Linked DNA regions of Homo sapiens: all the other regions are linked to region 2. The links are contacts of gene promoters, found by promoter capture Hi-C in blood cells and fetal thymus (Javierre and others, 2016). All regions are on one chromosome and are shown on one strand. The core of a region is centred on a gene start or on the middle of the fragment in contact, and the rest is flanking DNA. Distances in the headings are between cores, read along the strand shown.

Region 1 (3,085 bases), core at 27-2,526, 390 kb after region 2:
AAATATGGGCTACCCTTATATTAACATAGGACACTCAATTACCTTGTATGCATTCACATTTATTTACATACAGTTTTTTTCTGTAGCAATGATAAATGCAATCCTAAGTAATATTGGCTTAATATTTGGATGCTTTAATTTATAAAAGCTTTCCCTTTCTATGGCTCATGACAGTGATTTATATATTTATTGGTAGCTCTGTTTTAGAAAAGCGACTGAGTTGCTGGGTGTTTCTGCCCTAGTTTCTGGTTTCCGGGAACCTCTGGGCTCGCCCAGCCTGCCTGGTTGGCTGTTGGCTGAGGCTGGCCAAGGTTCTTGAAACTGTTGACACCTGTGAAGCTCTCTGTCCATCTCAGTAGGCGCGAGAGTCCCAGATCTTGTTTGGGGAAGCACGGCCTTGCATTGAGGAGGGAGAAGGGAAGAAAGAACTTGATTATTTCAGAGAAGAGACAGAGGAACCTTGGTTTCCCTCAAGGTCTTAAGTCTGGAGTACCTGTCACTTCTGCTGACCTGTGAGCTGACTGTGTGAGGGCTCCACCCCTCCAGTCCTGGCCTATTTCCATCTTTCCCAAAACTTGAGAGGAAGGTTACACTGAACAGAAGTACCTGTGTTGTTCTTGAGTTGAGGAATTTTTTTCTGCTATATTTTTTTCTAAATGATGCTAAAGTTTTTGCTGGAACAATATGTTGAGTCTGTCTAGCTTCCGGAGGACTTAGATCACCACATGTTATGATCTTAACGTAACACATGTGTGCATGCATGCATGCACACACACACACATATGTGCACAATGCAAACTGCAGCTCACCACAACACAACATGTACCCTCCCCTTCCTTTCATGGGGATAGGATAACTCGAATCTTCCTTCTGACTTTTATTGTCAAGAAATATTTTCTACACTCTCTATTTCTATATCAGTTGTTGGCAGTTATATCTGCAAACCCATGAGGGTTTTCTGGATTCAGATAACACACATCATTTGTGGAATATGAGGAATTTAAGGAGACTCGAGGGTGGGCAAAGATTTGAATAAACATCAGAACGAGGATGATTATTTGTGAAACAGACCTTTGAGAATTGAGTTCCAAGAGCAACAGACCTTTCGATGAGAACCAAAAAATTCATTCTGTAGCTCAGAAAATTCCTAACTTCATTTCTTCAGGATAAACATGTCATTATACCAAATAGCAATCTCAGTGTGTTAAAATCTACCTATGCACTGTGTCCCACAGACATCGTCAGATGCCAGCTCTCCTGGTGTTGCCATTTATTATGTTGCCGACGATTCTGGGATTTAGGATCCCACCTTCATGCCCTGTCTCTCCCCCTCCTTCCAGGTTCCTGGGACTGCTCTTTGCCTCCCCCTTCCACCCCACCCTCTCTCCCTTCCCCTCCAGCCTCTTCCACCAGGTGCTGTGCTCCTGCCTTGGGATCAGCCAGCTCCCATGCTGCCTCCTTCCCCAGTATCTTCACCTCCTGGTCTAACCCAGAGATCAGCCACCCTTCTCCTACCCGAGTATCTTCACCTCCTGGTCTAACCCAGAGATCAGCCACCCTCCTCCTACCTGAGTATCTTCACCTCCTGGTCTAACCCTGAGATCATCAGCCAGCCTCCTCTTACCTGAGTATCTTCACCTCCTGGTCTAACCCTGAGATCATCAGCCAGCCTCCTCTTACCTGAGTATCTTCACCTCCTGGTCTAACCCTGGGATCATCAGCCAGCCTCCTCTTACCTGAGTATCTTCACCTCCTCGTCTAACCCTGGGATCATCAGCCAGCCTTCTCCTCCAGTATCTTCACCTCCTGGTCTAACCCTGGGATCATCAGCCAGCCTCCTCCTCCCCCAGTATCTTCACCTCCTGGTCTAACCGAGAGCCACTCTCCGAGTTCAGTGCTGCCTTGGCTCCCTTGGGAATGGGAGTGCACCTTCTCCCACCCTGTATGTGCCTTGGGATCTGGAGGCAGGGCTTAGGTTCCTGCCCTCATGGCCACTTTTGGGTCATGACCCTTCCCCTCGCTGCTGCTTTGAGCCTTGTCTCAGTCGTATTCTGTCCTCTACCCTCAGTGCTAGCATTTCGTGGTCGTAGCTCCTCATTCGTTCCTTGAAAGTTTTGGCCCCTGGCTCACAGTCATCTGCTGCAGGGGTCAGTATTTGTCAAAGCTCACCGGGGACTCCATGGCAGCCGGAGCTGAGTGACCAGCAGCCTGGTTTGCCTGAGACTGGAGTGGCAGCAGGAGCTTTTTGGGATGGGGATGTTCAGTCTGAGGACTAAGGAGTTTCACAGGACGCAGGACTTTCAGTGCTCAAACTAGGAGGAGGAGGTTACCCTAAAAAGACACTGTTAATACCAGGAACCGCTTCTGAGCTGAAATCCAGAGATCCTACTCACCAGAAGCTTCTGTCCTTCAGCTCAGCTGACAGATTACAATAAGAACATCAGATTTTTCCCATTCCAGGTCCCTTTCCAACCCCTCTGCTCCTGCTGGACTTTGCCTCTGCTTTTGAATTCCAACATTTCAGCGATGCGCTTGTCAACGCACTGGAATCCCTTACTTCACTCTCCTGGGGGATTGGGCGGCCCACCCATGCCTGTCCCTGGACTTCTGAGTTCTGCCAGAGAAAGTTACACAGTTGCCTCTCTATGATCCTGATCTCTGCCTCACCAGGGCCTCAACACTGCCTGGAAATCAAATTTTCCTCATCAACCCTCTTCCTCTCCATAATGACTTTTCCAACCTCCTCCACACTTCTTAAATCTCTAGGTTCATACTGAGCCCATCCCTCCTCCTCTCATTTCACTCTCGGCAGATTATCTTTCCACAGCTCACGGGACAGTCGTGCGAAGGCCATTCTCTGACCTTCCCACTGCCCCTTTGCAAATCCGCCTGCTCTTGGGCCTGTACTTTTCTCATTTTTCTGTTTATAGTGAAAGAGGAATCTTATTTATTCTCTAGAAATCCATTTCTGCACCACCATTCTCTCCCACCTCCAATTTATTTATTTTTATTTATTTATTTATTTAATTTGAGACAGAGTCTCGCTCTGTCACCCAGGCTGGAGTGCAGTGGCACGATCTTGGCT
Region 2 (2,998 bases), core at 493-2,992:
GCATTAAATGCATTTTCGACCTACCATGGGTGTATTGGGACATAATCCCATAGTTAAATTGAGGAGCATGTTATTTTATTTATTTATTTATTATTTTTTTGAGATGGAGTTTCACTCTTGTTGCTCAGGCTGGAGCGCCATGGCGTGATCTTGTCTCACCACAACCTCCGCCTCCCAGGTTAAAGCGATTCTCCTGCCTCAGCCTCCCGAGTAGCTGGAATTACAGGCATGCGCCACCATGCCTGGTTAATTTTTTTGTATTTTTAGTAGAGACGAGGTTTTCCCATGTTGGTCAGGCTGGTCTCGAATTCCCGACCTCAGGTGATCCGCCTGCCTCAGCCTCCCAAAGTGCTGGGATTACAGGGGTGAGCCACCACGCCCGGCCTCGGGCACGTTATTTTAAAAACACACCATCTCGGCGCGGTGGCTCACTCCTATAATCCCAGCACTTTGGGAGACCGAGGCGGGTGGATCACGAGGTCAGGAGATCGAGACCATCCTGGCCAACAAAGTGAAACCCCGTCTCTACTAAAAATACAAAAAATTAGCCGGGCATCGTGGCGGGCACCTGTGGTCCCAGCTACTCGGGAGGCTGAGGCAGGAGAATGGCGTGAACCCGGGAGGCGGAGCTTGCAGTGAGCCGAGATCCCGCCACTGCACTCCAGCCTGGGCTACAGAGCGAGACTCCGTCTCAAAAAACTAAAACAAAAATAAAAACAAAAAACACCATCTCAACTCCCTGACAATCTAAAGTTGGAACAGAAGCTTCTGATGTAGCCAGCCACCCAAATTCCCTTTTCACTTCCCTTTCACTCTGAAAAGCGCTTTTACTTTTAGTAGTATTAAAACTTCAAGAGCATTAGCCTCCCTAATAGTCCCTTTTATTCCTCCTATTAGATTATTTCTGTTCTTAAGAGGCAGCAGGAGGAGCCCTGTAACCAGCACGTAACCTTAGGCAAGGCCATGAACACGCCTGCGCCTGTTTCCTAACTTAAAGAGAAGCATTAGCCGGTCTCTAAGGTCCTGGAACTCCCGTCTGCTGTCGCTGGGCGTTCATTTGAAAGACAAAAGCGGTTCCGAAAGCACGCCCGGCGGTCCCTGCTCTGGGAGTGCTGACCTGCCTGTGTGCAGCACAAAACCGCTCCCTTCCGGCCCTCACAGCTAACCTGCAGTCCCCATCCCTCCAGCTTCCTTTCTGCCATAAATCACTAACTGTGTGGGAGATGAAATCCGCCTGGTGAAGGCTGGGACGGACAAAACACAGTATTCCAAAATCTAGGGCCCAAATCGGAGCCCTCGGAGACGCGGCCCCTAAAGCCAATGGGGTCCGGGGCGGCCCGGAAACTTCCGGGAGAACCGGACCCTGAGATTCTGGAAGGGCCAAATAGTGACCCTCTTCCCTAAAAATCACGGAAGAGACATGAAAACCACGGGATCTCCCTGGCAAACCTCAGGAGACAGCAGAGAACTGCGGAGCCGAGAAGGCGGGGCAAGAACTTCCGGGGTGGGGCTACGGCCGGGGCGCAGGGGTTGGCGGGCAGGGCCCTCGCCTCCAGCGACGCATCCACCCACCCCTGGGTCCGGCTCTACTGGGTTATCCTCGTTCCGCCGAGCAGGAGAGGCCGGGGGCGCCCGGGAGCTTGCAGGCGGGCGTGGGTGCTTGCGTTCTCTACTCGGGATCCGCGAGCAGGGCCAGCGAGAGGCCAAGTGTTGTGCCCTTCGCGACCCTCGCGTCTCTTAGTAACGCGATGAAGCTGCAGGAGCTCCCGGCTCCTTCAGGCCCCGCCCAGCTAGCTCAGGCCCCGCCCCCGGGAGTGGGCTTTTATGCGCATGCGCGAGGGCTGGGGTGGGCGCCGGCCCATCTTACTAAGCCAATGTAGGTCCCAGGTAGGAGCGCTGCCAGGGCTCACCCCTGAGCAGAGATGGAGGGCGAAAAAGGGTTACTTGCCGCTACTTGAATCCCAGACAAAATTCCCTGTGAAAGCGGATCACAGCACGGAGACTGTGTTTGTAGTTCCTGATAGTAGATATCTCCTATCTATTCATTTGCGAGGAATGAACCATTCCAGAGAGTCGCCATAGTGCCTGACAATCAGTAAACCTACAATAGATGATATCTATAGCTTTAATTATTTTTTCTAGCATTATCTATTACTATATTACAGTACTATCTAAGCGAAAAGTGATCAGATTCAAGATATACGGTTTTTTGTTTTTTTGTTTTTGTTTTTTTTTAGACGGAGTCTCGCTCCGTCGCCCAGGCTGGAGTGCAGTGGTGCTATCTCGGCTCACTGCAAGCTCCGCCTCCCGGGTTCACGCCATTCTCCTGCCTCAGCCTCCCGAGTAGCTGGGACTACAGGCACCCACCACCACGCCTGGCTAATTTTTTGTATTTTTAGTAGAGACGGGGTTTCACCGTGTTAGCCAGGATGATCTCGATCTCCTGACCTCGTCATCCACCCGCCTCGGCCTCCCAAAGAGCTGGGATTACAGGCGTGAGCCACCGCGCCCGGCCAATTTACATGTTTTGAATGTAGAGCCATCAGGACTTGTCAAATTGTTGAATGAAAGAAAGGAGCAATTGTGTGCTGGAGCCAGCTCATTAGAGCTCTGGAGACTCAGTAATTAAATTTTTAGGAATTTTTCTGAGCTCGTTGTTAAATACAAGCCATGAGCTGGAGTCAATGAAGATGACAAGGGCCTCGGGCACCTGCCCCAAACAAAACAAAAACACAAGACATATCACAAATTAAATTATATAAACTTCTAAATAAACGAGTCATACTAAAACAAAGGCAATACTTAGTAAAACTAAAAACAAAAAACTATTTACTTACAACTCCCAAATTTCTCTCTTCAGCCCGGTCTTTCTCTGAACTTTAGATTTGTATATCAATGTATATTCAACATCCACTTGATTGTACAAAACAACCTCCCCAAACACCTCCCTGCCAAAACAAAAACAAAAACCCTGCTCCTTCTTCATGTCTTTTAGTAG
Region 3 (2,809 bases), core at 20-2,519, 410 kb after region 2:
CCCCAGGGTGTCCGTGTTCCCAGTTGTTGACCCTCGGGTGCGTCTGTCGCGTCTGCTCTCTTCTCCTCCAGGCAGGGAGCTCCTGGACCACGTCTTGCTCCCCTCTCGATCTTCAGGCCCACCCTGTGCTCCCCCGTAGGAGACATAGTAACTGGTTCAGCCAACCAGGTTAACTCAACCAGCGAGCGCTGTGGGTCCTGGTCTTGCTGACAGCTGTTGCTTTACTCCTTTCTTGTTTTTGGTGTCCTCCCTGCGAAGCCTGCGTATTGGTTGTTCACAGAAAGCCCACCAGGTGGTCTGAAGAGAGGGAAGTGGGAAAACAGACTTTAATTAAAAGGGCCGGGGCCATGGAAATAGCTGTTCTCTAGGGTTTGGTTAGAGACAGACAATCCTCCAAAGACCCAGACAGAGATGTGTCCCTGTCCTCACGCTCAGTTTTCATTGCGGAAGCAGAAATCAAATAAGAGCCAACTTAAATTCTTTTAATTATGGAACATTTTAAGCCTACAGAAAAAACACATCATTGTTACCGTTGTTTCTGGCATTAAGGTCTCTTTTTTCTTTTTAAGAGTGAAAAATGAAGTTTTCCAGACAAACCCTTAACTAATTCAGTATTTCAAAAGTGAAATACAGGCTGAACATCCCAAATCTGAAATCTGAAATGCTCTAAAATTCAAAATTTTTTGAGCACTGACATGCTGCTTAAAGGAAATGCTCACCGGAGCATTTCAGAGTGTAGATACTCAGAAATATTCCAAATATGCTAAAATTGGAAAAGCTTTGAAATCTGAAACACTTCTGGTGTTTCGGATAAGGGATGCTCAACCTGTAGTGAGTGAGTGGTTGGAAGTTAGAACATATTCTTCTGTAGAAACAAACCTGTTTGACCCACAATTTGGCCAATATACGGAGATTTGAGATGAAAAACTTACAAAATGATAGAATGACTGGCTGTCATTTTACCAGTAAGGAAACAAACCCAGAGAAGTGAAGTCAGGATTTAGGTTTGTGGACCTTTTATTTAAGGTTCTTTCTACTCTGCCATACGTTACTAGTGACTTCAGACAACAGTGTCGAATCTCATCAGCCAAAACCCACCAGGAACACAACGTGTAGTTATACAGAAGTTGGCTTCGTTTAGCTTGCTTCTGCCGGGGCCAGTGTACCCAGAAGAACCCTGGGACTATTTTGGAAAGGCAGACTTGGGGTTGTTGTTGGACTGGGTGATTTGAAGGTGGAATTAGGGAAATGGGACCAGATCTGGGTTGGATGTGGCCAGGAGGCAGAAACAATTCAGTGATTGGGTATCCAACAACTTTTATCTAGGAGGTAGGAGATTAAAGTAGAGTTAGAGTGGCCATGCAGTAAAGAATTTGCAATCATACATGTTGGTGAGAAAAGGGGGCATCTGGTTATTTTTGTGGTAGTAATGTGGGCCCATCTGTGTCCGTTTTTGAGCATTCATTATGTTCTGATGGGAATATGGGGGTCAGGTTGTCAATTAGACTGGTCTTTACTTTGAAGGTCGGTAGGGTTGAATTTAATTTGTTCACCAACTTACTTAATTTCATTCTGAATGCTGATGCTTGAGGAATAGGTTTTAATGGAGCAAGATGCAGTGGGAAGTAGGGACTTAGAGGATGTCTAAATAACCGTGTCTGAGCAGTCACTGGTTTTTAAACATTGTAGCTGCTCAATGGTAATAATGCAAATTTTAAAAAAGGCAGATGGGTAGTTTTCGCCTAGCTTGAGAAGCTTTAAAAATCATCATGACGACTGTACTATCTTAAAACGTGATCAGCTATAGAAGCAGATAAAACTGTCGAGCTGTTATTAAAGTGTACTTACAGTTGAAACATATTAGTCTTCAAAGATGCCATCCAGTTACTGATCCAGAGGTAATGTTAATGGTGGTGTTACTCACGGTGCCAAAACACCCACAGATCAGTAGAAAATGTGGACAGTCAATTTAGAAAATTTGCAAAGCAGTCAGAAGTGAGAGGCAGTGTTGGGTAGTGAAGAGTGGACCAGACTCCAATCTTGGTCCTAGTCCGAGCTTTGCCACTGTGTGGTCCAGAATGTCTTTGCCACTCTCTTAACTTAGTCATTTCATCTCTCTGGGCCTCAGTTTCCTCATCTGTCATAATGAGGAAGTTGAACACCTGGTCTCTGTGTTCCTTCTAAAGTTTCTGTCATTAAGTCTGTTTGAAGATAGTCTCTTCTTTTGAAAGTATTAGTTTGTTTGGCCAGTTGGGCCAGGTCATAAATATTACGGAATTATTAGTCAGCTCTTGAAGACAGGAATGTTTGAGGGCTTTGAAAGCTAGCCCAGCAGGAAGCTTTTCGTGGTCTGTGTATTTTCCTTCCTCTCAGGAATGATTAGGCCGAAATCAACCATCTTCTCAGTCCATCCTCTTTGTAGTTTCCTGAGATGAATGACCGAGGTGTTTTCTCCTCAGAAAATAACATAGGAGAAAAATTCCAAGGGAGGTCTCTTTATTCAGGAACTTGCAATTTAGGAATTAAGTGTGATAACTTTATTTTACCAATTTTAATTTTGTGACTATAACATAATATAAATAAGGATTCTGTTACATGCAAATTTTGAAATCATGCAAAAACCAAAAAAGGAAAAGAAGTCAATCAAAACTTGTATAATTTCAAAGATGGTGGCCAGGTGGTTTGGAAGCTGTGCATGGGATTGCCACATGGCCTCTCCCCTCTAGCAGGCAACAGGTGCCTTGTGTGTTTAGTCAGTATCTGCTGCATGTCATTGCTGATGGCATTCAAGTTTTTGCTTATGTGTGCT
Region 4 (2,925 bases), core at 80-2,579, 360 kb after region 2:
CCATTCCACTCTTCAAGTCTATGAGTTTAGCTACTTAGATGCTTCATCTAAGAGGAGTCACATGGTATTTGTCCTTCTGTGCCTGGCTTCTTTCACTTGGTCCTCCAGGTTCATGCATGCTCGTGCTTGTGGCGGAACTGCTTCTTTTCTAAGGCTGCCTGGTATTCCACTGTATGTATATTACCACATGTGTTTACCCATTCATCTGTCCTTGATGGTTAAGCTGGTTCCACAAAACTCCTAGAAGAAAACATAGGGGAAGAGGTTCAGGACACTGGTCTTGGCAGTAATTACGCGGCTGCCACGCTAAAAGCACAGTCAACAAACCCAAAACTAAACCAGATTGCATCGAACTAAAAAGCTTCTGCACAGCAAAGGAAACAGTCAACGGAGTGAAAAGGCAACCTGTGGAATGGGGAAAAATGTTGGCAAACTACATATCCAATAAGGGGTTAATATCTGAGAAGTTTAAGGGATTTCCGCAAATCAACAGTAAAAAAATGAAGAACCCAACTAAAAAATGGGCTAAGGACTTAGACATTTCAACTCGGAGTTTTTTTTTATTATTTTGTCTTTTTGAGACAGAGTCTCACTCTGTCACCCAGGCTGGAGTGCAGTGGTGCCATCTCGGCTCACTGCAACCTCCACCTCCTGGGTTCAAGCGATTCTCCTGCCTCAGCCTCCTGAGTAGCTGGGATTACAGGCATGTGCCACCACGCCTGGCTCACTTTTGTATTTTTAGTAGAAATGGGGTTTCACCATATTGGCCAGGCTGGTCTTGAACTCCTGACCTCAAATGATCCGCCTGCCAATCCTCTCCCAAAGTGCTGGGATTACAGGTGTGAGCCACCGTGCCTGGCCTCAACTCAGAGTGTTAGTAATGCAGCCGGCAGTGATGTCAAGATGCGGACACAGGGACACTTGGAGGATGGGAGCTTTGTCCCTTGTCCCCACCTGCTCCTCAGTATCTCTTCATGCCTTCAGGAGAGTTTTAAAGATAACTGGGTTTTCATATTAGAAATAGCCTGTTTTATTCCATTCTTGGACAAGAGTTTTGGCATTGTTCCTAAAGTGTCATAGTAAAGTGTATAGGAAAGAGGGCTGTCATTACTGTGGTATAAGCTTTTCTGTGCCATTATTAATATATGGGACAGAGCATACTTTGTGAAAGTTAAAACTCACGCTTTATCCAAGTTTTAAGGTATCTGGTGAATGCTAATGAGTTTACAAAAATTGTACAGTCTTATGAAATCTTGCAGTATAAATAATCACAGGTGGTTTGTGAGTGTTTAATGTAGATGTATCAAAATTCCCATGTCCTGGAGGAAGTTGAGAATGCCATTTGTGCATATGCGTATGTAGAGGGGGCTTCATAATATTCTTTCCCTTGTAACTTGATTCTATTTGAAACACATAAAACTGGTCAGGGTTCTTTTTCATTTTTTCTTTTTTTAGTGGATGTGCAGGGTAAAGTAGTGTATCGGAAAGAGAGAGGCCTAGACTTGAAAGATTTTCAGACTTTTAAGCCTAAGCTTGCCATGAATGAGTATATGACTTTTGAGCATGTCATTATTTCTGTTTCCCAGCGTCGTCTTCTATAAAATGGAAATAGTCACACTCACCTACTTCTTAGAGTTGTCTTAGGGTGAGATAGAAGCCTGCATTCTTTATGCCTGCTTGTCCTTCTAGGGAATGCTCTGGAATTGGAACAGCATGTGGGCCACCCCTTAGGATAGGTGACTCTTAGAAGGTGAGAGGAGGCAGGGCGTCGGGTGTGCAAGAGAATCAGCTACATCATCTTTCAGGTTCCTGCTGCGGTGGGTGAATTCTGTTATTCTGTGCCCATGGAATGGGAGGTGTCATAGAAGTCATAGACATCAGACGTAGAGTTTGACCTGAGTGAGTCAGTTGCCCTCTTGGGGTTTGCATATTCTTACCTGTGAAATGCAGTAATAATACTGGTAATATTATTATTATCATCAATGAACAGTTTTTAATCATCTTATATGTGACCAGGCATGGTGTCAAGTTCTTTATGACATTTCTTCATTCATTCAGCAACTATTTAATGAATGCTGCCATATGCCAGTCATCGTTCCAGGCTCTGGGGATCAGTGGGATCACGGGCTAGCATGGTGGCTGGGACAGACAGACTCCCTGCCTGCATGGAGTTTATATGCTAGTGCATGACAGAAGGTAAACAGATACATGGATGAGGTGATTCCCATGGTCAGTGCTGTAAAGACAACTAAGTCAGTTCAGGGGGCTGGAGTCTGGTGGGAGAGCAGGTTGTGTTTTTATTAGGATGAGGCTCCTCCGAGGAGGAGAATTTGAGATCTGAGTGAGGCAAGGGGATGAGCCTCGCAGAAACAAGTGCAAATATCAGCCCAGTGGCTGGCAGGAGCTTGCTATGGAAGGAATGGCCAGAGGGCCTGTGTGGGAGGAGCCAGCGGCCAGGGCAGGAAGAGAGCTGTGCAGTGGGGTCCAAGGAGGTCTGGCAGGCCACGGTGAGGACGTGGCTCATGAGGAAGCCACAGGAGAGTTCTGAGCAGGGCGTGCAGGAGATGGACCTTGTATTTTGTCAGTGTGTCCCTGTGGTTGTGGAGGGCCACGGGGACTGCAGAGGGCCAGGAATAGAAGCAGGGAGACCAGCCGGGGTGCCGCTGGTGAGATGGATTGGAGTTGATACAAGAGAGAAAGGCATTGTGGGTGACACCTGCTCTTTTGGCCTCAGCCTTTGGGTGAAAGATGGTGCCATTGATTGATATGGGGAGACTGGTGGAGGATGAGCTTTATGATGTTCACATCAGCCTCTGGACTTAGTGTTGTTTTATTCCCATTTTACAGATGTGGAGACCAAGGGGGAGAGAAGTAAAAAGTTTGCCCTAGGACCTGGCCAACAAGGTGAAACCTGTCTCTACTAAA
Region 5 (3,225 bases), core at 497-2,996, 450 kb after region 2:
CTGCTACTCGGTGCGCGCAGGGCCCTGGGAGAGCTCCAGCTTGGCCAGTCAAGGTCTTCTTGGCAGATGTTCTTTCTTGGATGACGATGGAATTCTCTTTCCCTTCTCCCTTGATACCAGGTGGGGCCTTCATCGTATTACTAAGAGTCGATTTATTACTCTTTCCGCTCCTTCTGGTTGAATACTTGAGATAGACGCTTAGGAAAGGAGCTAGCCAAGCCCTGGAGAAATGCTGACTCTTTGGATTTAATTTATGAGGCCTAATAGAAGCCGTCACAGAGGCTGGCTAAGGGTAGAATTAGCAGCAGAGAGTAGAGGCTGCAGCCTTCCCTGCTGTGACTTCATGGTTGAAGCTTGAGGTGCAATCTCATGGGGACCTCCTTGGTTGGTTGTCCGTGGTTATTTACTCATTTAAGAGGTTCCAGGAAATAATGGCACCTGTGTTAGCCAGGTGCCAACAAACAGTGAAAGTAGCATGATTAAAAACATTTACTGTGAGGCTGGGCACAGTGACTCAACGCCTGTAATCCCAGCACTTTGGGAGGCTGAGGCGGGCAGAACACTTGAGGTCAGGAGTTCAAGACCAGCCTGGCCAACATGGGGAAACCCCATCTCTGCTAAAAATACAAAAATTAGCAGGGTGTGATGGTGCGTGCCTGTAATCCCAGCTACTTCTGGAGGCTGAGGCAGGAGAATCGCTTGAACCTGGGCGGCAGAGATTGCAGTGAGCTGAGATTGCGCTACTGCACTCCAGCCTTGGTGACAGAGCAGGACTCTGTCTCAAAAAAGAAAAAAAAAAATGCCACCCAGGAGGGAAATACCTTACACAACAGGCTGTGAACCAGAATCAGGGTTTGGAGGATCCTCCATTAGAGCTGATAGCCAGCCTATAAGCTCAACGAAGAAAAATTCACTGTGCAAAGTCACATGCATGAAGGGAATATTCTAGCTGCTGCAATGTGGCTTTAATTCAGTGAGTTGGTGCTTTGCTCTCTAGGGGAACTTGCTGGAGTTTGCTCTCTTTCTTTCCATTCCCTTTTCCTTCCTCAGTGATTTCAGTGTTTCTCAGAGATAAGCGGTCAGATCAATTAGGCACACGTGCTTACTGAATATGTTGACAAGATATCTCGCTAGGAGCTAGTTCCAGCACTGGAGGTGTTTATAATCTTGTTCAGAGATGAGACATTGCATAAGATGTAATAAATAATAAGACATGAAATAAAATGCCACATGAATACTTCGAAGATAAGAACTATAGGAGCAAATTAAGAAAAGAAAATACACACACTAAATCAAATGGTTTTATTGTTAGATAGATGTTCGTATTAATGTTCTCCGAGGGAAGCCGTGGAAATTAATGGTTCAAATGATGTTTTAAATTAAATGTAAATTTTATTTCTTCTTGATCTTCCTCTGTGCTTCCCAGACTGTTCTTCAAAAAAATATGACTGAACAGTTTGAAAAGCCAGGTTTTTTGTGAGTAGCAGTAATAGGACACTGGGGAGAGGGAGAGCAGGAAGTGGGAACAGCAAATAAGCCTGCTGCCTCCCCGATGCACAACTGCTTGCAGTGTTGCTAGGAAACACCTGTCGTTTATATCCAAAGAACTTCCTGAGGTGCTTGAGGTTAGGCTATGGGTGAGTTTTGATTTGCGTCCTAGCATTGAAATCTGAAGACCTGTGTGGTTTGCTGTGGCGTAGTCAATAACAACGAAATGGCTGGCTGTCCCCATGCACCTGCTGCGGGTACCTGGTTGCAGGAATGAATGGGGCTCTGGGGAAGTGTGTGTTTCCTGCTCAGGCTGTGTGTTTATCCATTTTCATCACAATGCCCAGCATTGGGAATACAATGCTGAGCAAAATCATATCAGCCTCTGCCTTTTTGGAGCTTAAAATGGAGTGAGGAGACAAATATTATTCAAAGAATCACAGAAATGCATGTAAAATGACAACTGTAGTGAGTGGTACAAAGAGAAGGGCAGGGAGCTGTGAAAACAGGTGCCTCTGCACCTAATGGCTGATGAGCAGAACATTAGTCTCCAGCCATTGCTGCTCTCCATGTGCCAGGCACCATGCTCAGTGCTTAACATTTGGGATCTAATGGAATTCTCACCATATTCCTATGGGGGGAACCCTGTTGTCATCTCTACTATAGAGGAGAGGGAACTGAAGGTCACCAAAGTTAAGTACAGTGGTCCCTGCTTCTCCTTGGGGGTAAATTCCAAGACTCTCATTGGGTGCCTGAAACCATGGATAGTACCAAACCCTTTATATATTATGTTTCTTCCATCTGATAACCAAGATGGCTACTGAGTGACTAATGGACCAGTAGTGTAGACCTCGTGGATATCCTGGACAAAGGGAAGATTCCCATCCTGGGTGGGATGGGGTGAGATTTCATCACACTATTCTGAATGCCCTGTGATTAAAAACTTATGAATTGTTTATTTCTGGAATTTTCCATTGAATATTTTCGAACCGTGGTTGACTGTGGGTAACAGTCAAGCCATGTAAAGTGAAATCGCATATTAAGGTAGACTACTGTAACTGAACTGAAGGCCTTCTCCTCCAAAATTTCGCCCTCATCCACAGTCCCAGTCTTCGTAAATGGCACCACTTTCCATCCAGTCCTGTAATTTGGAAATTTGGGAGTCATCTTTGACCCAGCCTCACCCTCCATATCCAATGGAGTTCTTTCCACTCTACCTTGTAAATATCCAGTGAATTTCTCCACTCCTCTGCAATCCCACTACCCATTTTAGAACAGCAGCTTCCTGGTGGGTCCTCCTGTCACTTTTGCCTCAGTCTGCTTTGTGCTCTCCAAAGAAGTCCAAATGATCTTTAGCAAAGGCAAATCTGACTGTGTTCCTCCCTTGCTTGAAGACTTCCCATTGATTTTAGGGCAAAGACCAAAATCCTTAACATGGCCTCCAGGCCCATCATGCTCTGGCCCCTGCTTGCATCGCCAACTCCTCTTGTACCTCTGCCTTTGTTCTCCTTGTTCCAGACTTACCAGCCTCCTCTCTGCTCCAGGGCTTTCCCACCTACCAACTGCCTTTCCTCAAAGTTCTCATTCTCCCCTTTGTGCTTAGTTAACTCATGTTGGACCCTTAGATCCCAACTTCCTTAGGGAAGCTTTCTGAACTGTGCAGAGCAGGTCAAATCAATCTCATAACACAGTTTTACTTCTTCTTTGCAACATTAGGTAAATTAATCCTTGTGTAAT
Region 6 (2,817 bases), core at 265-2,764, 430 kb after region 2:
GTTTGAGAGCAGCCTGGCCAACATGGCGCAACCCCATCTCTACTAAAAATACAAAAAAATTAGCTGGGCGTGGTGGCACGCGCCTGTAGTCCCAGCTACTTGGGAGGCTGAGGCAGGAGAATAGCTTGAACCCAGGAAGCGGAGGTTGCAGTGAGCCGAGGTCATGCCACTGCACTCCAGCATGGGCAATAGAGCGAGACTCTGTCCCCCCGGAAAAAAAGAACAAGGGCTAAATTCAAATCAAATTTTCCCTGTACCCTAAGAAAAATAATTAGGCCGGGAGATGTTTGACTAAGTGAGTAGGCATTGTTCTGTGACGGTCTGAGCCCCAGACCTTTCCTCTGGATGAATGCTGTCCCAGGTAATGAAATGACTTCACTTATTAATATATAGGTACACAGAGTTCAGGTAGATGTGGAATGAATGGGGACTCGCCCCGTCTGCCCTTGAATGTATTTAGTGGTTTATGTGAAATGTACCTTTCAAAGTTGTCTGTATGTTTCATACTCTGGGGGTGGGAATATAAATCATTGCAGCCTTTTTGTAGGGCACTTTGGCAGTACTCATCAAAATATGCGATGTGCAGATGCTTAGCCAGCAACTCCGCTTCTATGAATCTAGCCAACAGAAATACTTGTAGAAGTGTGCAGCTATAAATGTCCACAGAGGCTCAGAGCCTCATTGTTTTTAATAGTGAACAGTTGGAAACCAAATAGATGTCTGTCAGTAGGGATGTGGCAGAATTGTGGCATGTTTATATGGGTATAGAAAGTATGGAGGAACATAGACCCAACTGTTGGTAAGAGTTATCTCTGGATGCAGGAATAGGTAGGGGTTGATGGGTACAGGGTCTCTACTTTGCATAATTTTGGGGCCACTGTTCACATAGAACATTTGCGATGGAGTGGTGCTCCTCGATTCGTTTAATGGAGAGGGTTTGGATGTGCTTTTGCTTTTTATTTAACACATGGGTATATTACTTTTCTTTTTCTGCAAAGAGCACTTATTAATTTTATAGTTTTTTAAATTGGCTTTGCCCGCTTCAGTAGTCACAGGTAGCTACCTGACCGAGAAGCCGACTTGGGAATTACTGTTACTCGTGGGTGATACTGTCATAAAGGGGTTGAAAGTACTTGTTAGCTGTATATGTCAGAATTGATTAAAGAGAACCAACTATTCTTGTGCAAGGGATGGTATTGTAGTTAATTATGACATTTGGAGAAACTAATTTCTGTCTGTCGACACTATCTCTGTTCCATTTAGACTTAGAGACTTACATGGGCAATGCTTGACTTTTTGCATTCAGCACAGAAAGTTAAGTAATCCACTGTGGTAAAATATTAACTAAATTTATATGACTTCTTGACTGCTGTAAGTAGAGAATATTTATCATATAAGCACCATTTTCCTGAATTTTTTGTTACTACATATTTTATCTTACTGTCACTATTGTGTAAAATCTTTGAAAGGAAAATGAATACTGTGTAATAGTTAAACCCATTCATAGGTTGCAATAGAGTGTCAGCCAAATGTGTCATACATCAAATCTTCAGCAGCTTTTGCATAATCCAGGAGAATTGAATAATAGTTGAAGTTAATTTTGCCAGTGAAATGTAGGGAAAGAAAAATGTTTGAAATTTAAATTATTCAGATAGCTAAATTCTTAATCCTAAAATTTAAACCCCTTAATTCTGTCTGTAGTGTTATATCAAGACTTTTTGATAGTCATGAAACTGAGTAAAACTTTATTCAGATTACTTAAAAACAGCTTTTCCTGTGGTTAATAACACCTTTATTTTGAACAGAGTACTCTTAAGCAACTTATATTGTGCTGATTAAAGATTTAATCTGTGCATATTTTTTATCCTGTTGTTTATTTAGTTTTGATAACTGTGAAATAAACCATAATTAAATCACAAAAGTCACCTGCCTCTTTTGTTTCCCTGGAAATTTGGCCAAATTTTTTTTAACGGAAAGTTCTGCTAATGAAAATTGGGAAATTGGAGACATATATTATTTTGACTGTGTGTCCTCTGTCATTAAAGATGGACTATACTAGCTGGGTGTGGTTGCTGATGCCTATAATCCCACCACTTTGGGAGGCCAAGGCAGGTAGACGGCTTGAGCTCAGGAGTTCGAGACCAGCCTGGCCAACATGGTGAAACCCCGTCTCTACTAAAAATACAAAAAATTATCCGGTCGTGGTTGCGGGCACCTGTAATCCCAGCTCCTCGGGAGGCTGAGGGAGGAGAATCGCTTGAACCTGGGAGGAGGAAGTTGCAGTGAGCCGAGATTGTGCCATTGCACTCCATCCTGGGCAACAAGAGGAAAACTGTATCTCAAAAACGAAAAAAAAAAAAAAAAATAGAGCTGGGCGTGGTGGCATGTGCCTGTGGTCCCAGCTACTCAGGAGGCTGAGGTGGGAGGATCGCTGGGGCCCAGGAGGCAGAGGTTTCAGTGAGCTGAGATCATGCCGCTGCACTCCAGCCCGGGCAACAGAGAGAGCCTGTCTCAGAAAAAAAAAAAAAAAAAGATGGAATATACCGATTTTTACTCTAAACAACAACTTTGAATTAAGTTTTTGTGATTTTTAAAAACATCTAGATAGGAGAGATGCCAGAATTTTTAGAAATTCTAGATGAATGAGGAAGTATGCAATTGAGGATTGGTTTACAGATGTGATTGTGTGGACTTTAAAGGGATCAAGGTGAGTGTGCTGTTGAATTTCTCTGGCCGGAGCACATATATTGGAAATTGTTATTTAACAGTTGCTCAGATGACTCCTAGTTGGTTAGTCACGGTAGTTGATAGGAGTCG
Region 7 (2,795 bases), core at 88-2,587, 470 kb after region 2:
ATATTTTTTCCCTTTTCCTTTTTGTTTAGCTGTTTATTAAATTGAATAATTCTGAAGCCCGTCTTCCCACACTCCAGGCATACCATTTGGGGACAGGCAGGCACAGATATATGCCTCGGAAGCCCAGGAGGTTGAGAGCCTGGATAATTTTTCCTGATGAGGGTTGCAGCTCTTCCTGGGTTGCTTGAGAACTTCCTTGGCTTCTGAAACATCCAAGTGCCCCGGGAATTAACATCTTTGCCTCCTCATGAACCCATCAAACCAAGATCCAATTGCATCAGCAAGTGTACTTCTTACTGTGTATAGGTAGTAACTCTTCTTTCCTTTCCTTTCTTTTCCTTTCTTTCCTTCCTTTCCTTCCCTCCCTCCTTCCCTTCCTCTTCCTTTCCTTTCCTTTTCCTTCCTTCCCTCCCTCCCTCCCTCCTTCCCTCCTTCCTTCCTTCCTTCCTTCCCTCCTTCTCTTTCCTTTTCCTTTGTCCTTTAATTCTTTCTTCTGCTCTTGTTTTGATTTATAAAGACAAGAGTGTTGTGGCTGAAGCTTCTGTGGCCTTCACACTTGATTCTACAAGAATTTGCTAAAAACCCCATAGCAGCCTAGAAAATCATCAATCATCTTTTGGATGACATGTGTCAGGCCACTGTTCCCTCTTTTACTGGAAAAGAGGCTTTCAGCCAGCCAAAGGGTCAGGGAGCAAAGCAGAGTGACTATGACATGCAATTGCCTTCCAATCTGGAAAGAAATGCCATGTGCCACAGAGGCAGTGGGAGATCCTGGCTTTCCAGCTATACAGGGCAGGTGTGAAATCCTGTCTCATCTGTGCATTCACTTAAAAAACAGTCGATTGCATACTGTCAACTTAAAAATCACCCAATCTATACATTTGGAAAGGAGATCTTATTTATTATAAAGGGTTATAGCCTGCAAGGTGGTCATCTTGACTGGCTGGGAAGCACAGCCTAATATGCTATTCAGTGGAAATAGCGTATAAGACTGAAAAATAATATTATCAACCCCAAGGCAAGCACTTGGAGGAAATGAAACAGGAATTTATGTTGAATGGGTTGGTCTACAGATTACAGGAAAAGCTAAGCATTATCACAAAGTGAGGGCACATGCATGATAAGCAAACATGCACGTTACATGTATTCCATGTTCACTTTGGGGCAGAGACTTAACATTTAAGTGTATTCAAGTTAGACCCTATACATCAAAAGGTGAAGCAGGGACACCAAGATCCAATTGCATCAGTGAGTGGACTTCTTACTGTGTATAGGTAGTAAACCTTTCCCTCCCTCCCTCCCTCCCTCCCTTCTTTCCTTCCTTCCTTCCCTCCTCCCTAGCTTCCCTCTGGCACTGAGTGCACAGCCTCTGTAAACTGGCCACAACCAGTCTACGGTCAGCAGCCTCTGATCAGGACAAAGTTACTGAAATCAGTCTCTTCTCCAATCAAAGCTGTAGTGATGGCTGGTGGGATGGGGGTCAGTTAATCAGCATCTGGAAGTACACGAGCTGCAAATTTTTTTTTTTTTAGATGGAGTCTCGCTCTTGTTGCCCAGGCAGGAGTGCAGTGGCGCGATCTTGGCTCACTGCAGCCTCTGCCTCCTGGGTTCCAGCGACTCTCCTGCCTCAGCCTCCTGGGTAGCTGGGATTACAGGTGCCCGCCACCACGCCTGGCTAATTTTTGTATTTTTAGTAGAGACGGGGTTTTGCCATGTTGACCAGGCTGGTCTCGAGCTCCTGACCTCAGGCGATCTGCCCGCCTCTGCCTCCCAAAGTGCTGGGATTACAGGTGTGAGCCACTGCACCTGGCTGCAATTGTTTTCATATTGCTTATGTCAAGGCCAGTGTTTGTTTAGCTGCTAGAGAAAAATGAAACCTTGTGGCCGTTAGAACATAGTTTATTCTTTTAAAGTGTAGGGTGTGTGGCTTAACCCTTGCCTGGCAAGGCTTTAGGTCCTGTTCATAATTTGGTATCTTATGGCCACAAAGCATCCGTATCCCATCAGTCTGATGATTTCTATTTTAACATGAATGCTGGTCAGTTGTTGTAGCTAAACCACAAAAGGGAAGGGGTATGACAAGATGTGTCTGACCTCCTCTTCCGTCATGGCCAGGAACTTCGTTTTTAAGCTTTTTCTGAGATTCCCTTAGCCAGAAGCGGGTCCATTCACTTGATTGGAGGTCTCTTGTTTTCTTACAGTGTCAAAACTTGACTAGTTGTTTATAAGAAAACATGGAACTGTGGTCATTCTCCAGTTCTCGGTACTATGGGCCAAGTCCTGTTATAGGCACTGGTGAGGTATCAGTAGATACACCAAGTTTACTGTCATCATCACAGAGCTTGCTAACTAGTAGAGGCAGCTAGATAATAGACAAAGTGAGTACATTACTATATTTTGTTGATTCTTAGAAGCATGATGTTTCACATTAGCAACTTTGAAACTGGGGTGCATTCTATAATCGCTGGCATCTTATCATTGCTGCTGGCCGGGCAGCTGCCTTTAAGGAATTGCCATTTCCCCCGAAGTTGCAAACCTGAGAAAAGCTGCTCATAGTGTTCCTGCTTCAGCTCAGCTGGGCTCTTTGCCAGTACTATGCGTAAAGGATTTATTTTGCCATTCAAATGTCTTCAAAAAGATTCCACGATGATCTGAAATTGAAACAAAAGGTTATTGTGTACATGGAGAGGCATGGAAACCCAAAAGCAAGTATTCATCTTTGGGAGAGTGACCACAATTCCGTGTTTCCTTATAAACAACCAGTCATGTTTTGACACTGTAAGAAAAGAAGATAC

The links. The method cuts DNA at HindIII sites, captures the fragments that hold promoters and counts their contacts. A CHiCAGO score of 5 or more calls a contact.
Region 1: a contact is called between a fragment that was not itself captured here and the fragment with the promoter of MEIG1 in region 2, in 8 of 17 cell types (fetal thymus, naive CD4 T cells, neutrophils and 5 more). The highest score is 7.5, in fetal thymus.
Region 3: a contact is called between a fragment that was not itself captured here and the fragment with the promoter of MEIG1 in region 2, in 10 of 17 cell types (monocytes, naive B cells, total CD8 T cells and 7 more). The highest score is 10.6, in monocytes.
Region 4: a fragment that was not itself captured here is called in contact with the fragment with the promoter of MEIG1 in region 2 in 2 of 17 cell types (naive B cells and monocytes); the score reaches 5.9 in naive B cells.
Region 5: a contact is called between a fragment that was not itself captured here and the fragment with the promoter of MEIG1 in region 2, in 15 of 17 cell types (naive B cells, monocytes, naive CD8 T cells and 12 more). The highest score is 13.2, in naive B cells.
Region 6: a fragment that was not itself captured here is called in contact with the fragment with the promoter of MEIG1 in region 2 in 14 of 17 cell types (naive B cells, monocytes, activated CD4 T cells and 11 more); the score reaches 14.5 in naive B cells.
Region 7: a fragment that was not itself captured here is called in contact with the fragment with the promoter of MEIG1 in region 2 in 6 of 17 cell types (neutrophils, M0 macrophages, endothelial precursors and 3 more); the score reaches 8.0 in neutrophils.

What each region holds. Positions count from the first base shown.
Region 1 is chr10:14,567,098-14,570,182 of GRCh38, reverse strand. The region is part of intron 2 of FAM107B (family with sequence similarity 107 member B); the gene reads left to right. Among named protein-coding and RNA genes, the nearest start is that of MIR1265, 130 kb to the right of the region's middle. The HindIII fragment of the contact is 2,251 bases long and covers 151-2,401 here.
Region 2 is chr10:14,958,132-14,961,129 of GRCh38, reverse strand. MEIG1 (meiosis/spermiogenesis associated 1) reads right to left here and starts at 1,742. Exons shown (of 3, transcript NM_001080836.3): 1 at 1,573-1,742. RefSeq lists a silencer at 1,470-1,519. The HindIII fragment of the contact is 3,683 bases long and covers 768-2,998 here.
Region 3 is chr10:14,545,499-14,548,307 of GRCh38, reverse strand. All of the region lies in intron 2 of FAM107B (family with sequence similarity 107 member B), which reads left to right. Among named protein-coding and RNA genes, the nearest start is that of MIR1265, 110 kb to the right of the region's middle. The HindIII fragment of the contact is 977 bases long and covers 781-1,757 here.
Region 4 is chr10:14,595,603-14,598,527 of GRCh38, reverse strand. The region is part of intron 2 of FAM107B (family with sequence similarity 107 member B); the gene reads left to right. Among named protein-coding and RNA genes, the nearest start is that of MIR1265, 160 kb to the right of the region's middle. RefSeq lists enhancers at 1,998-2,498, 2,499-2,925. The HindIII fragment of the contact is 410 bases long and covers 1,125-1,534 here.
Region 5 is chr10:14,505,776-14,509,000 of GRCh38, reverse strand. No RefSeq gene overlaps it. Among named protein-coding and RNA genes, the nearest start is that of MIR1265, 71 kb to the right of the region's middle. RefSeq lists enhancers at 1,770-1,829, 1,075-2,346. The HindIII fragment of the contact is 2,781 bases long and covers 356-3,136 here.
Region 6 is chr10:14,523,583-14,526,399 of GRCh38, reverse strand. All of the region lies in intron 3 of FAM107B (family with sequence similarity 107 member B), which reads left to right. Among named protein-coding and RNA genes, the nearest start is that of MIR1265, 88 kb to the right of the region's middle. The HindIII fragment of the contact is 9,482 bases long and covers 1-2,817 here.
Region 7 is chr10:14,487,562-14,490,356 of GRCh38, reverse strand. It overlaps LOC124902380 (a long non-coding RNA gene), which reads right to left. Exons shown (of 2, transcript XR_007062062.1): 2 at 1,882-2,651. Among named protein-coding and RNA genes, the nearest start is that of MIR1265, 52 kb to the right of the region's middle. The HindIII fragment of the contact is 1,593 bases long and covers 541-2,133 here.